Regions from separate parts of the Homo sapiens genome. Here region 1 is linked to region 2. Evidence: promoter capture Hi-C in 16 types of primary human blood cells and fetal thymus (Javierre and others, 2016). All regions are on one chromosome and are shown on one strand. Each heading gives the region's core, a stretch centred on a gene start or on the middle of the fragment in contact. The rest is flanking DNA. Distances are from core to core; before and after follow the strand shown.

What was found. Contacts are between HindIII fragments. The CHiCAGO score rates a contact against its expected background, and 5 or more counts as called.
Region 1: a fragment that was not itself captured here is called in contact with the fragment with the promoter of HCLS1 in region 2 in 1 of 17 cell types (total CD8 T cells); the score reaches 6.1 in total CD8 T cells.

What each region holds. Positions count from the first base shown.
Region 1 is chr3:119,459,828-119,463,380 of GRCh38, reverse strand. It overlaps TMEM39A (transmembrane protein 39A), which reads left to right. Exons shown (of 9, transcript NM_018266.3): 1 at 1-45; 2 at 1,233-1,419. The coding sequence starts at 1,307. Among named protein-coding and RNA genes, the nearest start is that of TMEM39A, 2.0 kb to the left of the region's middle. RefSeq lists an enhancer at 1-95. The HindIII fragment of the contact is 4,172 bases long and covers 1-3,338 here.
Region 2 is chr3:121,659,340-121,662,991 of GRCh38, reverse strand. HCLS1 (hematopoietic cell-specific Lyn substrate 1) reads left to right here and starts at 2,089. Exons shown (of 14, transcript NM_005335.6): 1 at 2,089-2,172. RefSeq lists enhancers at 1,817-1,866, 2,057-2,246. The HindIII fragment of the contact is 5,970 bases long and covers 1,292-3,652 here.

The DNA.
Region 1 (3,553 bases), core at 3-2,502, 2.2 Mb after region 2:
CCGCTTTCTAGGGACCCCGCCCCACCGGCTGGGACTCTTCCATGCGTGAGTATTACTGAGCTGCCCCAAGGTCCGGCTGTCCTGGACCTGCCTCGGCCCTCTTGGGTGTGCGGCGGAGACTGCTTTGTCTACCTTTCTGCCGACTTCTCTTAGGGACCAGTCTGTTGAAGTTTGTGGTCTCCTGCAGTCCACCACACCGCATACTCTCACCTCTTCCGTCCCAGTTTTTTCCCTGCACTTTTCTTTCCCTTTGCTTGTTAATGGAGCAAGGACCAGCAGCCCCTGCATCCAGCGGTTTGAATGCTTTGTTTGACTTGGGGTTAGTTTACAGCCGAAGGCTGTTAGGAATAGGGAGCATTTGAAAACACGGGTTTTTTCCAGTGTCATCCTTGGGTTTTAGTTGTATTGTTTAGGAAACATTGGTATCCATGTTGACAGAATCATGATTTTTGCCGTAGAATGATGAAAAGAGCTTTTTTTTTTTTTTCCAGTGAGGATCTTTATCTTTTACTTGCTTCTTAATCTTGCAGTTTCAGTAATTTCTGTATGATTTTACACCAGCTTTTCTGGAGCGGGCATCCCCTTGAAGAGTTTCTTTCAATATTTTAACCCTAACATATAGAGATACCACTCGAACAGTTTTACTTTTAAACTGTTAAAAGAACTACTGGTACCCTTTCATTCCACTTCCTCAGTCCTGACAACCTCTGCAGAACAGGGGACACTCCCCCCCCCCGCCCCCCCCCCTTGAAGAAACACACTCAGAAGAACACACTCAGAAGTTAACTTATCCGGATAAGGTCAGATAATATGTGACCATCTGAGCTCACAAGCCATATCCCTTGATAACAAAACCTAATGTTTTATAAAGTGCCAATTCTTCTATATTTCAAGTAGTTTAAGTGTGAAACATTGAGCTGGAAATGTATAAGGTGTGATGTTTCTTGTAAACTTCTATTTGATTATAATATCTTACAGATGATACAAATCAGTTGACAAAAGACACAAATCATCACTTGCCTAAAGCTGAACAGAGCTTAGATCAGAACTTAGGCTTTTGACCCATTAGAGTCTGAGTAGTCCTTTAATTCGAATAACGTAAGTAGTAGACACTGGGAACATTCGTTTGAAAATCTTATTTTGTAAGGCCTGCTTACTCAGTGTTTGTCGTTGTTTTGTTGCCTACTTTAAAAATAGTCTACTGATGTTTAAATGTTTTTGTTGTCGTTCAGAGTTGAAACTGGTTGACAACCATTAACCTGGGTTGCAACTACAGGTGGCACTGGAAGCAGACTGGTTCCTGGACATGCCCGGTGGAAGGAGGGGCCCTAGTCGGCAACAGCTAAGCCGTTCAGCTTTACCTTCTTTGCAGACTTTGGTTGGTGGAGGCTGTGGCAATGGAACAGGCTTGAGAAACAGGTAAAGAAAAAATAAGGCTATATATAATTTTAATGTCCTTTGATCAGTAAGACTAACATAAAAGTCATCATGTCATTCAGATATTTGCTTATTGAGATTTATTCTTGACACTGTGGTAGAAATCCTGCCCTTCAAGACAAAATTCAGAATTCCAAAATACTTTGGAGGTAAAAAGATGTGAAATGGGGCCCACAAAGTGAAAGCAGTCCCATTCTTTATTTTGGCTGATCATCTAAATTCTTGTTATCCCCTTTTTATCTATTAGAAGAAGGGAGAAGTGAATGAAAATACAAGGTAAGTGTGATGGTTTATCTACTTATAAGCATTCTTTTTTTAGAGGGCAAATTATAAGTCAAATTCCATCAAGGATTTTAAATTGTCAAAAAATTGTTTGGTCTTAATAAATGTTAGCTGTTTTTTAGCTGGGTTAGCCCATGCCATCAGGAGGTTTGATAATGTAGCAGTTCAAAGAGATACTTTTACCTAATGAAGTATTTGCTCAAGATATTTTCTGCCAGCTAATTTCTCCTTCCTCCCTGAAAAAAGTTTTTCTCTTGTCTTGATTTTAATTTTCAGAGCTAGCAATCAGTACTACTGTATTTTCAGGCCTGTCTAATGGTATTTATGCACTTTTGTTTTCTAGGCCTGACCTTTGTCCTTTTTTTTTCCTGACTTTCCAATCCCTCTTCCACCCAATCTTTAAAATTAGTTCTGATCTCATCATTTCAGTGGAGCTCTCCCTGAAATTCCAGTTTGAAGGGATTTTTCCAGTCTCCGATTCTCATACTAATTTTTAATCCGAGTTTTGTTTATGTATGTATACAGAGTAACTAGTTTATGCTAGAGTATTTTTTACTCTGCCGTTCGTTGGATTTCCTTATTTTAAAAATGATGGTACTGTTTGCATCATAGCAGGATGTTGAAATAAATGAAGTAGTAAATTGCAGTAACTTTAAAAAACTTTACTGAATTTTACAAAATTTCTACAAATAAGTATTATTTTATATACTTAAAAATAAGAATGAGAATATGCGAAAATGCTTTTGAAGAAAGGTACTATCTAATATAGGTATTGAGATAAAAGTTGTTTGCTCTTTGAGGTACATGCCTTAATTTTATTAATATATGCTATCAACTTATTGATTCAGTACTTTCAAATTGTGATAGAAAATCTTAGCTGTCCCTAACTAGGATTCTAGCCAACTAAAAAATTCTAACTTTGCCTCCTAACTCTAGCAGTTCTTTGTTCGTTCTCTTTGACTTTGGCTTTGAGGATTCCTCTAGATAATTATGTTCTCTAGATAAAAATGTTCTTAGACTGTCCCATGAAATCCCTCTTCAGTGTCTCAGGGGTTGCTGTAGGAGGGCTTAGAAGGGAAAATGGATCAGGCAAGCCTAACAGTCTAGGCTTGAGTTTTCCTCGTCTTCTTTTAATTAGACTGACTCATTTTCCTATGTGTTTTAAATATTAAGATACTATGTAAAATATCATGAGGAAAGGAAAATAAAGCGTTCTGCTATTAAAAAGAACTGAAAGCCAATGAAAATGTCATTTGTAGATGCTTCTGCTTGCACTTAGAGTCTGCAGATGGTATACTGGGAAGAAGTAGGAACGTTCGGAAAATACCTCGGCTCTTGACTGGGTTTGGTATTCTTTTCTCTGCCTTCACTGTAGCTCTTCTATCCTGGTATTCAAGGTTCCAACCATGGTTGCTTTAATCTGCCTTTCTCTCCTCCTTTAACATATGTTTATTTAGCAATTAACTGGGGGGAGGGAGGGAGTGGGTAGAAAAAAGTATTTTCCAACATTTTAAAATGAAAGAAATAATTGTTTATGGTTTGAAAAGTCACCAAGACTATTATTGAGTGATTATTTGTGACATGTTTACCTAGAGAAATTATTTGGGGAAAAGAAAGCTTTATATTTCTTTCTTGGTGGGAAGCAAGCAGCTGGAATAATTTGTTATAAAAGACCTGGGGACGAGGTATGAAAACATGAAAGAACTAGCGGATAGCTTATAATATAGTTTTAGGAAGGATATATAGAAAGAAGGAGTGTCCAGATGAGGAGAACTCACTTCTGGAGTGTCTATAGAGTATTGGAGGGAAATAGATAATTGCTTCAGTATTACAT
Region 2 (3,652 bases), core at 840-3,339:
CCTTAGCTGCTAGACCCCAGGTGATGAATGCAGTGAGGAAATTCTATCCTAATACTGAACCAAATAAGCTGGGCCTTAGGGCATGAAATTGATGCAGGTCCATGCATGGTCCTGGGAGAACTCTTGTCTGGCACATAGTGAAAACATTAGGCCCCTAGGGATCCCTCTGGGTGGGAATGGGAGAAGAGAAGCTTAATAGCATGTAGCAGGTTAGATAGGCATTATTATGTTTTGTTTTGTTTTGTTGGGTTTTTTTTGAGACCGAGTTTCACTCTTTCGCTCAGGCTGGAGTGCAGTGGCACAATCTCAACTCACTGCACCTTCCGCCTTCCAGTTTCAAGCGATTCTCCTGCCTCAGTCTCCCAAATAGCTGGGATTACAGGCACCTGCCACCATGCCCGGCTAATCTTTGCACTTTTAGTAGAGATGGAGTTTCACTGTGTTGGCCAGTCTGGTCTCAAACTCCTGACCTTGTGATCCACCCGCCTCAGCCTCCCAAAGTGCTGGGATTAGAGGTGTGAGCCACCGTGCCCAGCTATTATGGATTTTTATATTAAGTTGCTGCTTGAGAGAAGATAGCTCACTTTCTCAAAGTACAATAAGTGGTTTAATTGAACCAAGTCTGTCTGGCTTCAAGGCCCATTCTTTTTCTGTGTGATACACCTCACTACCTCATCAGTAATGAACTTGTGACATTTGCTAAGGAAAGATGGGACTTCTTGGTGTCATCTCTGATTAATTTCTATATTTTCTCTAGAGAACTATGTACCTGGATGGTGTGTCACATCATCTAGTCTAAATCGTATTTTGACACTACATGAGGATTCCAAGTGATTTTTCTCTTGTACAAACGTACTCTTCCTTATCATAACTTTGGTACCACCATGATAAATAGGTAATAAAGTAGAAGGAATAAATAAAGCTCCCCCAGGCATAGAATCCTTAGATTTGGAAGTGACAGAGGCTTCATATTCCTAATGCAGAAAAGTGCCTGTATCATGGGCCAGTTTCATCCAGTCCTGCTTAAACTCCTTGGAGGATGCACCGTTGTGAACAAATCAAGAAGTCCACAATCAAGATTAGGAAAGGCTAGGTCAGATACAATAACAGACACCCTCAAATTCTCAGTAGCCAAAACAAAGGACTATTTTTTAGTGAAAGACTCCAATTCCCCCACATGGTGGATGGGGCTCCACTTGTGTTCTTTCTCACTCAGGGACCCAGTCTGCTGGAGGAGCCAATATGGAGAATTGCAGGTTGCCTTGGGCAGTGGTGAAAGCATGGCAAAGCTTGCAGTGGTCTTACGGCCTCCGCCAGAAAGTGGTATCTGTCACTGGCCAAAACAAGTCACCTGAGTAAGTCTGACTTCAAGAGGGAAGGGAGGGGCAGCAAGTCTTGACACGCAGTAAAACAGGATACCACAAAGACCTTCTTCCATCAGCTGACCAGCACCTGGTTCTTTCAGAATTCTTCCTACGCTCTAGAGCCAAATCTTTAGTTTGTTAGCTCAGACTCCACAGTGCCCCAAACAAGCTAGGAAACTCTCCTTCCATGTCTTGCCTTTTCCCTCATGAGTTATTCTCTTCTGGCATTCAATTGGTCGACGTTTATTTGAACATCTATATGAAAACTCCACTTTTAAGTGCTGTGGGTAATATAGGGGTGAGTTTCTTTTTAAGTCTTATGCTTCAAAACCCACATATAAATCACTTTTCCCATAAAGCCTTTCTTGATGAATACACCCAATACCAAATGCTCTGAATTCCTTTACTGTCTCAAATGTAACTGCCACCCTATTTAGGACACAATGCTGTTCTACAGCATTCTCTAATGTGTTTTCTGGTTGAATGTTTGTTTCTCTCACTGGATTACAAACTCAGAGTCAAAGCAGCATTTTCTATGACTGCTCTATGACCCCCATTGTCAAAACCTTGCAAAAGACCAGGCACAGAAACATTTAATCCTTTTAAAATTTAAGTGTCTAAAGCAGAAGGAACTGACTCAAATTTCAGGAAGTAGCTGTGAGGATGGGGTGGCAGGAAATGACGAAAACCTGAATACGGAACTGAAGCAGCAGCTCAGTTTCTCACTCCGAAGTGGCAGCAGCCAGAGAGGGAGTCGGTGTGGACGCGAGGAGCCGGGCGCTTAGAACAGAGGCTTGCACAGGTGGAGGTGGGTACTCTGAGCCATGGGACAGTTGGGAAACACAGAGTAAGAGTTGAGGAGGAACCTACCTGGCTCTTAGTCCTTGGTGATGGGCAAGGTCACCACTAGTAGGCTTTTATCCTTTTATGGCCAGAAGGCCTGGTTGTGAGTGGTTGTAGCAAATCAGCATCTGGAGATAGAAACAAAAGGGAGGGGCTTAAACCCAAGGCAAGTGTTTCAGGAGCCATCTAGCACCAACATCAAGCAAAGTGTTGCCTGGTTTCTGCTGACAATCTACAACCCACTCTAAGGCCTGTCTCCCCTAGGTACTGAGCTGGGAGGAGGACCACAGGAGACGAAAACAGTGTCTGCCCTTGAAGAGCATATGGTCTCAGGGAAACAAACCCACACAGGAAATGTAACAGATCAGGAAGTAGTCACTGATGTACACTAGCACTGAGTACCAAGTGCTGATGGAGCCCAAGAGAAGGCATGATTGTTCTGCTGGGGCTAGTTTCTGTGTTCGTAGATCACAGAATCTCAGAATGTCAGAAATCAAGGAGACCACAGATGAGCTACGTTAACCCCTTCATTATTTTCCACTGGGAAAATCAGAGATAATTGCTGATTTGCCAAATTATTAAAGTTAGTATTTCTTAATCGCCTGGTCTGATACCTGGCAAATGAGTACCTACTCTGTTGATGCCCTTGTGATGGTCCCTCAGAGGCTTAGTCACAGAGCTGGGGTGACAGCCAGGGCTTCTGACTCCCAGTCTGTGTACTTTGATGCAGGAGGTCAGCATCGCAACAAGGCCTCACCAGATTACTCTCTGGTTCTCACCTCTAGATAGCACTTCTTACCTTTCTGGTTTCTGGTCAATAGGTCAAGGATATTAGATAAATTGTCTCTATTTCAGAAACTCTTTATTTCAAAAATGGGTGAATGGGAGAGTCAGGCTGAGGCCTCAGAGGAGCCACAGGAAGGAGGATGGGACCATCAGTCCTCATTGCTTCCTTATTGCTCATGACTATTTCAGAAACTTCTCCATTCCAGTTTTCTGTGTGACAGTCCTTTTGTTGTTGCACAGCAGCCCAGGAGCCAGGGGATGAGAAGCAGAGGGGTAGTAAGGATGCAGGTAGTAAGGATGTTTTGCTGTCTCCAACCGCATCAGGGAAAGCCAAGCTGCTTTCAGCCATGACTCCCGGCTGACTCAGTCAATATCTCTCCGGTGTCCCCTTAGCATCTCTTTAACTGATTTACCCAGACTTCCCCTGGGCTGGTTTTTAAGAGGTTGCTCAATGGAGAAGATGGAGCTTTCAAGTGGAAATAGAAAACTGGAGAATCTGAAGGCCTAGGTGGAGACAGGAGAACCCGAGGAGTGGTTGTAAAGGGACTCTTTGGAGACGATGGAGAGCATGGGGAAGGTCTCCAATGGGATGAGGTGTCTGAGGAGGGAAGGATTGCCAGCTAGCAAGTGCTGCCAGGGTCAAGAAGTCTCAGTGGTGA